Regions from separate parts of the Homo sapiens genome. Here region 1 is linked to region 2. The links are contacts of gene promoters, found by promoter capture Hi-C in blood cells and fetal thymus (Javierre and others, 2016). All regions are on one chromosome and are shown on one strand. Each heading gives the region's core, a stretch centred on a gene start or on the middle of the fragment in contact. The rest is flanking DNA. Distances are from core to core; before and after follow the strand shown. Region 1 has its middle 100 kb from the start of LINC02691. Region 2 holds the start of KIF26A (kinesin family member 26A).

The links. Contacts are between HindIII fragments. The CHiCAGO score rates a contact against its expected background, and 5 or more counts as called.
Region 1: a contact is called between a fragment that was not itself captured here and the fragment with the promoter of KIF26A in region 2, in 1 of 17 cell types (endothelial precursors). The highest score is 5.5, in endothelial precursors.

What each region holds. Positions count from the first base shown.
Region 1 is chr14:104,326,493-104,330,460 of GRCh38, reverse strand. No RefSeq gene overlaps it. Among named protein-coding and RNA genes, the nearest start is that of LINC02691, 100 kb to the right of the region's middle. The HindIII fragment of the contact is 3,647 bases long and covers 428-3,968 here.
Region 2 is chr14:104,137,218-104,141,188 of GRCh38, reverse strand. It overlaps KIF26A (kinesin family member 26A), which reads right to left and starts at 2,602. Exons shown (of 15, transcript NM_015656.2): 1 at 2,425-2,602; 2 at 1,901-2,146. The coding sequence starts at 2,466. It overlaps KIF26A-DT (KIF26A divergent transcript), which reads left to right and starts at 2,560. Exons shown (of 3, transcript NR_158217.1): 1 at 2,560-3,659; 2 at 3,947-3,971. RefSeq lists a silencer at 3,434-3,603 and an enhancer at 3,300-3,971. The HindIII fragment of the contact is 14,398 bases long and covers 1-3,971 here.

The DNA of each region.
Region 1 (3,968 bases), core at 1,002-3,501, 190 kb before region 2:
ACAGACTGCAGTATAGTATAAACATAACTTTTAAATGCAAAAATAAAAAAAATTGTGTGACTCTTTTTTAGCTATTTGCTTTACTGAGATGATCTGGAACCAGATTCACACTATCTCTGACAGGTGCCTGTACACTGATGAGTCAGGGACAGGAAAACTCCTATACGCACTCCCCTTCAAAAAGGGGAGGAACAGGAGGCACATGCAGTCACCAATCCTGGCAATTATGAAACACAGCCAGTGTCCTCTACTCCAAGGGCAAAGAATGTTCCTTGATTAGGTCCAGCTCTCCTCCTTGGGAGTGGTTTTCTAATTTATTGTTCTCCTTTGTTCTTGGCTACACCCTCTGAGTTTTATTTTCTTTTCCTTAAGAAGTGACCCACATTTGTAGCTGAGTAATTTCTCAACCTTTTTCTTCCCAGAAGCTTCTTTTCATTTTAAACCGTCTTCTGTGGTCTAAGCTGACAGTGTTTTTACCAATACAACTCTCTTTAAAACTTTGTGGATTTCTTATGAATCTAATTGAAGTTTACACCATATCTCAAAAGCCACATGCATAATTATTTTTTGAGACAGATCTTTCCCTGTCTTGGGCCATGTATGGCTGTTATGGAACAATCCTGGATTCTTAAAATCCCTTTTGTGTGGCTGAGAGGGCCTATTAGGTACTGCCATAAGTCTTTCAAAAGCCTTAACAAAGGATCTTACAGATACATCCTTAATTTGATCTTTGGCCCTGGCTTCATTTCACTTTGCATATTTTTACTAGTTGGAGAGAAAGGGGATGAGTGACAGTTTTATTTTCCACACAAGCTAGTCCTGGGCCTTTTGTCTTTAAGTTCCGATTGCAGATTGAATGATCCCTTCTCCAGCTCACCTTTGTCTTTCTTTCTTTCTTTCTTTCTTTCTTTCTTTCTTTCTTTCTTTCTTTCTTTCTTTTTTTGAGACTGAGTCTTGCTCTGTCACCAGGCTGGAGTGCAGTGGCAGTGGAGCAATCTCGGCTCATTACAATCTCCAACCAGGTTCAAGCGATTCTCTTGCCTCAGCCTCCCAAGTAGCTGGAACTACAGGCGTGTGCCACCACATCCAGCTAATTTTTGTATTTTTCGTAGAGACGAGCTTCACCATATTGGCCAGAATGGTCTCGATCTCTTGACCTCGTGATCCGCCCACCTCGGCCTCCCAAAGTGCTGGGATTACAGGCGTGAGCCACTGCACCTGGCCCAGCTCACCTTTCTTTCTGTATCTTATCACATGTGTGAGATGGAGCTGATGGGCACTTTTGACATTCTGTCCAGAGGCAAGACCTTCCACCGGATCCTACACGTTCATAAGGTATATCTTTTACCTTCCAAGTTACCATAGGTGACAGTTTGGCCACTTATTCCTAAGTGACAAAGGTCACTGTTTCTCCAGCCTCCAAAGGTCCCTTTTCCCCATCCCAGCCATTACCCACCCTTGGGCCCAAAGCCAACGTCACATGTCTCAGGTGCTTGTCAAGGCACCAGTCCACTGGTGGTACCAATGTCTGAATCACTTTTCTATTTGCTACACCACAGACATGCTGAAACATGGTGGCATCAAGTAACAATGCTTTATACGTCTCACAATGATGGGGGTCGACACCGGCTCCCTTGCTGTCCTCACAGGGGCTTCCCACCTGCCTGCAGCCAGGTGAAGGCCCAGGCACCAGGCCCAGCTGGAGCAGCTGGAAAAGCTGGGCCCACTCTGGATAAAAGAGCTTTTCATCACAGCCTTCTTCATAGCCTGGCGGTCTCAGGATCCTGGAGAGTGGAAAACAGGAACTGTAAGATCTCTTGAGGGCTTGCCTTCAAGGTCACACCACATCATGTCTGCTGCACCTTCCAGAACAAAGCAAATAAGATCAGTCCGGATGCACAACATGGGAAAACAGACTCTCCCTCTTGACAGGGACAGAGCAAAAATCTCATGGCCAAATTGGCTCCCCCACGTTCCAATACAGTCGCACAGATCATGTGCAGTGAGAGAAAGCAGGTAAGTCATCACGCAGATGTCATTAGGAACCAAGATTTTCAGCATAAGAGGAGAGAGATAGAAATTAAAAAATCAAAGAAGCTGCACAAACACTGTAATCTTACATTTAAATGGGAAATATTAGTATGAATTCATGATGTATTTTTCTCTTGCCAAAAAAACCCAAAAAATAAATGCATTTCTCAGCTTTGGCCACAGGAAAGGTTTAGAAGGAATGACTTGCCTAGCAGCCGCAATCCCCTTAGCTCCCGACTGTGACCATGAAATGCCATTTTCCACTAAAGGAAACAGGGCTGCCTAGAGAAATGGCCACTGTGAGACCTGGAGCAGGAAATGTGCAAGATGAATCTCGAACATCTTGTCATACAGGAAAATAAACAGCCCTCAGGATGACCAGGTTGAGCGAGAGAGTCTGGAGGCAACCAGGATGCCTCCCTCCAGAGGAGGATGGCACGATATTCACATCGCAAAAGTCCACGTCTACGTTAGGGGCCAAACTGTGTCTCCCAGAGTCATATGTTGAAGTCCTCATCCCCAGTACCTCAGAATGTGACCATAGTTTGGAGAAAATTTTTAAAGACACAATAAAGTTAAAATGAAATCTTCAGGGTGGGCCCTAATCCCATCTGACTGATGTCCTCTTAGGAAGTGATTGCGGCCCAACTACGCACAGGGGGATAACTGTGAGCAGAGACATGGTGAGGAAGGACCATCGCAAGCCGCAGAGACAGGCCACAGCAGAGCCTCCCCCGCAGCCTACGAAGGAGCCAGCCCTGCCGACACCTGGACCTCGGGCTTCCAGCCTCCAGAGCTGTGGGACAAGACACAGCTGTCATTTGGTCTGTGGCACTTTGTTACACAGCCCCAGGAAATGAATACAATTTATACCTTTATACATCTCATGTATGACTGCAATGAACTGAAACCAAATTAAATGATACCATAAGGACAAAACACTGAAGAAAAAACTCACGGCCCCTTTGGAAGGACCACGGCACCATCTCATCCCTGTGGACAGAGCTACATGGGTGAGGATCAGGTGTTGGCTGCCTTTTCTGTGTGAACTGTCTGTCAAAGTCATCAAATCATTGGCAAGGAAAATGTCCCTAATGGAAGAAGGCCAGGAGGTAGCTGCAGCGGGTTAGAATGGTGACTAGCGTCACCCCTGGTGGCTGCTCACACCACGGTGAGAAGCCCATGAGAAACCTTATAAAGGTGGAGCCAGGCTAGTGGCCCCAGCCGGCAGCCCCATCCCAGTGGCGTGTGCAGTGACACAGCAGGTGTGTGTGGCTGCTTAGCCAGGCTAGTGGCCCCAGCTGGCAGCCCCATCCCAGTGGCGTGTGCAGTGACACAGCAGGTGTGTGTGGCTGCTTAGCCAGGCTAGTGGCCCCAGCCGGCAGCCCCATCCCAAGGGTGTGTGCAGTGACACAGCAGGTGTGTGCGGCTGCTTAGCCCAGCCTCAGGGCTAAGCACAGATTCGTGGCACTGCTGGGCAGAAGTGCAGGGTGAAGGGCACCATGAGGCTCTCCGCATGGACGCAAACGACCGTGCAGAGGGCAGGAAGTTCCACAGGCAAAGACACTGATTTCTTCAACACATACATAGCCAGACCAGCAAAGAGGTTTGGAGCCACTCAGAGCCATAAGAAGACAGGCGCCATGAATCGGCCACATCTATGCAGGAACTCTTCTGGGTCCCAAGACCAAAGTTTAAATATGGAATAATTTGCTTTAAAATAACCCAGTGGGGGCCTGGTGGTGCTCATTATTGAAGCTGGGGGATGGGCATGTGAGCATCCAGATACCACACTCTCTCATTACATTGCTTCTGTGTCTTTTTTAAAGCTCCCTATTAAAACATTTAGAAAACACAATTTTAAAAAATCTGTTGTGAGACAGGACACAGGTGCTGAGTGAGGCAACACGTTCCAGAAGGCAGGGCAGGGGGCAGGG
Region 2 (3,971 bases), core at 1,353-3,852:
CTCCCAACCCAAACACAGAAGCAGCCATGTCCACACATCTGGGCCCAGCGGGCCAGGCCAGGGCTGCAGGCTGCAATTTTGCTGGGACTCTGGGGACAGCCCAGGCCCGCACAGGGGACAGGACAATGACACCCGTAAGGCCCCAGGATGGCAGGTGCAGCCCCCCATGCCCTGTGGAGAGACAGTGGAGGATGGGGTCTTCTCTCCCGGGGGCACAGCACCCTGCAGGTGGGACAGCACTTCACAACAGGCCCCAGGTGACAGAGGAGACCACAAAGCAGAAGAAGGGGGCCCAGAGCAGAACAAAGCCCTGGCTGAGACCAGCCCGGGACCCCGGTGTGCTGAGTGCCAGCGCCAGCTAGGGAAGGGGGAGCCCCCAGCTGGCACTCAAGAGGAGTTTCCAGTGTCAAAGGCCAAGCTCAGGGGAGGCTGGAGATGGGTGGTCTGGGGCTCCCCTGAAGACCTGTCTGCCAGAAGAGACCAAGACACCCCCCTAGATGAGGAACCTAGAATCCACCAGGGACTAGTATCACCTGCAGCCCTCTCCACTAGGACCCCTGGCCTGCCCGTGACCAGGAGCCCCCTCCCCTCCACGAGTCCATGCCAGGACCATGGCCCCAGGGCCAGGCAGCATCAGCAGTCCAAGCCCACTCCAAGAATGAGGAGACCAGCTCAATCTTAATGCCCCTCCTGTCTCTGGCGTGTTTCCCCTAATGGGGCAGCAAGATGGGCCTTTAGCTCTGGCTGGCCCTCTCCAGGGGGCCCTCAAGGGTCTCCTGCTACCTTTTAAACTAGATACAGGCCACTGGGGCACAGAGTATGGCCAAGGCTGCAGCCTGTCCAGAGCAGAGGACAGGGCGGGTCCAGCCCCACCCCAGGACAGGCCCACAGGCGCCTGGCCTGAGCCAGAGAGAGGCTACAGCAATCCTATCCCTCGCCGAGACTCCAGAGAGCCCGGAGACGGTGCCCAGGACAGAAACCAGACTGGTACCCTGCCCCACCCTGCCCTGCCCCAGACAGGGCAGTCAGGGTCTCAGCTCACTCCAACCCCCACAGCCCTTAGAGAACTATATTTAGATTCAATGGGGATTATGCGGACTTCCCAGGAACTCTTTCATAAAGGCTGAAGGCCCGGCAGCGGGCTTCCTCTGGAGACCCCCACCCGCCCCCAGCCTTTGCAAACTTCCAGCATGCATTGTTCCTGGAACAATGGTCCCTGCTCCCTCCAAAGCCGGCAGGCCCACTGGCTGGAAATCCAGGAGAACCCCTCCCCTGCAAGCACCTGCCCCTGGGGCTGGAGCCTGGGGAACCCAGAGGGCCCCGACTCAATTCCCCATGGGCGGCCACTGCCTCAGTCTATCCCAGGAGGTATGGGACAACAGTTCTTATCCTTGAGGCTGGGAGAGGAGTAGGCAGGGACCCCCCAGCTGCTGTGGCCCACCCTTTCACCTGCCAGGCCCCCCGGCCCCAGGTATGTAATTTCCAGACACCTGGCTGGGGGCCCAGGTGCCCCAAGGGCCACAATGCACCAAATAACCTCTCCCTGCTGGTAGGGCTGGAGCTGTCCCGCCCTGGGTGGAGTCCCTGCCATCCGCTCTCTCCCCTCCTCCTCCCACACAAACCTGCGTTCCAGCTGTGGGACATCTGGGCTGGGGGAGGAACGCCAGCCCAGGCCCCTCCCATCCGAGGCAGCAGGGCCCCTCGGGCTGAGCTCCCTAGCTCACACATGGTGTTACAGACCGGGAAACTGAGGCCCGCAGAAGGGAAGTCCTGGCTGATAACTCTTTGTGGAAACAGCAGCAGGGAAGGAGTGGAACCCTGCTTCCCTCCAAGCCCCAAGTTCTACCCAAGTTCGGCGTGGCCCTGCTCGGAGGGGTCGGCCTAAGGAAGTGTCACTTACCCGGAGGGTGGTCCCGGGCCCGCTGACCAGCTTCCACGCCTGTCGCTTGAGCTCCACCAGCTTCGTGTGGCAGTGGCGGCACCAGCCGCCTCCGCCGGCCGAGTGGCCCTGCTCTGGGCCGGCCCCGGCGCCTTCGGGAGCAGGGCGGCTGCCGCATGGGTCCTGGTCGGGCCCGGCGGGTAGCCTCTTTCGGGGGGACACCTCCAGCAGCGGCGGCGGCTCGCGGGCCGGGCCGCCCTCGGCCACCTGCAGGGTGTGGGGGCGGAAGCGGACAGTGAGCCTGGGACGTCCGTCGGATCCAGACCCCTGCGCGCCCTGCCCCAGCGTGACGCTCTTGCCAAAGTTAGGAGCCCTGGGCACGACCCTGGCGCTCACCCACTCCCTCCATCCCCGGAGGTCCCGCCTGCGGGTCCGCTACCCTCAGCAGGAGGCCCGGCCCCCAGGGATCCAGCGCACACCGCGAGTATCTTCGCCGTCCCGGGCCCCCGCCGCCCGCCTCCCTCTCCAGGCCGGGCCGCGCGTACCGCGGGCTGCGCAGCGCACAGAGGGACGCCGCGGCCGACCATGGCCGGGGCGCGGGAAGAGCCCGGCAGGCGCTCCCGGCCACGCTGGCTCTCCGGGGGCGCCGCGGCTACGTGATCCGGCCCCGAGGCGCCCCCATGGCCCGGCCCAGCCGCTCGGAAGTTCGCAGAGCCTGCGAGTGTCGCGAGGAGCGCGGTGGCTCCGGTGGGCGCGCTCGGGAGGCGAGGGCGGGGCCGGGGAAGGGCGGGGCTCGGGCTCCCGGGGCGGGCGGCGAGGGGCGGGAGCCCAGAGAGTGCCCCGCCCTTGCCCAGTGCTGGGCGGCGCGTGGGGGGGGTAGGGTCCCCGCTTCCCCACGCGGCCCCGCGCACTCCAAGGACCCCAACCTGTTAGGTGAGTCCCTGCCCCGGGGAGGGGCGCTGGGGGCGGCGGCGAGGATCTAGTTGCGCGCGCGCATGCGCCTCCCGCCCCTCTCCCGGGACACCAGGGCTGCGCGTCTCCCAGGAGGCGCCGACGCCCCTCCCTCTACAGGCGGGAAAACTGAGGCTGCGGAGGGGACGCTCTTGCCCAAGGCCCACGGCGAGGTGGGCCGAGGAAGGGGCGGGACCCCGGCCCCGAGACTCCCAGGCGCCTTTCCAGCAAGCCCAGCGTACTCTGCGTGTCGCGGGCCACTTTAGGTCTAACTGTCGCGCGTGGGTTAGTGTCGCCGCGGTGTGCGCCTCGAGCCGGGCAGCGACCGCGCCGGCGTATCTGTGCCTCGGCGCGTCTGCGAACGGCACGTGTCTTTACAGCCGCGCGTGTGCCCGCAAGTGGGTGTGCGCGCCGTGCCGCCCGGGAAGCGGGAGGTCCTGCGGGCGTGCGCCGGACCTGTTGTCAGCAGGCCTGGCAGATGGGAACTCAGCTCCGGAATTAATTGCTTGTTTGTCTCCGGCTGGGAGGCCGCCCCCCCGCCCTTCCCTGGCGACCAGTTGCTCTGTGCCTAGCCGGGCCCCAAATGTCGCCGGCATCCGCGGCCGCAGGCAGCTCCGGGCCAGGCTCCGGGTCAGCCCCAAAGCCCGGGTCAAGCCAGGCGGGCGCGGCGGGCGGGCTCCCCGTGACGCGAGTGCCCCCTGCCGGCCGCTGCGCACACGGCTCCGAGACTGGGGAGACAGCGCCGCGCGTCCCAGGCCTGAGGCGCACTCGGAAACTCCGAAGGTCGTGACCCGGCGGAGACCAGGACACGCGGCTGCCGGCACATACGGTGAGGCCTTCGCAGAGACTCAGTACGTCAAAGTGACCCTTTCCGTTTTGCCCACCCCCTTTTACTTGGATAAGCCTCCCCGCCCACGCACGCACTCCCCAGAAAGTGGGGTGGGTGATCCCCTCCCGGCTTTCCGGGTCGTTGATGACCTTAGGGGTTCGAAAACGCAAGGGGGTATGGAATAAAGTGGCAGGGGCTCTCCACTCTTTCTGAGATCCGTAAGCCTGCAGTCGCTTTCCACCCAGCCTGGGGGGCCGGAAGCGCTTCCCCTACCCGTCTCTTCGCAGCCTGGAGAATGAAAACGGGCGTCAG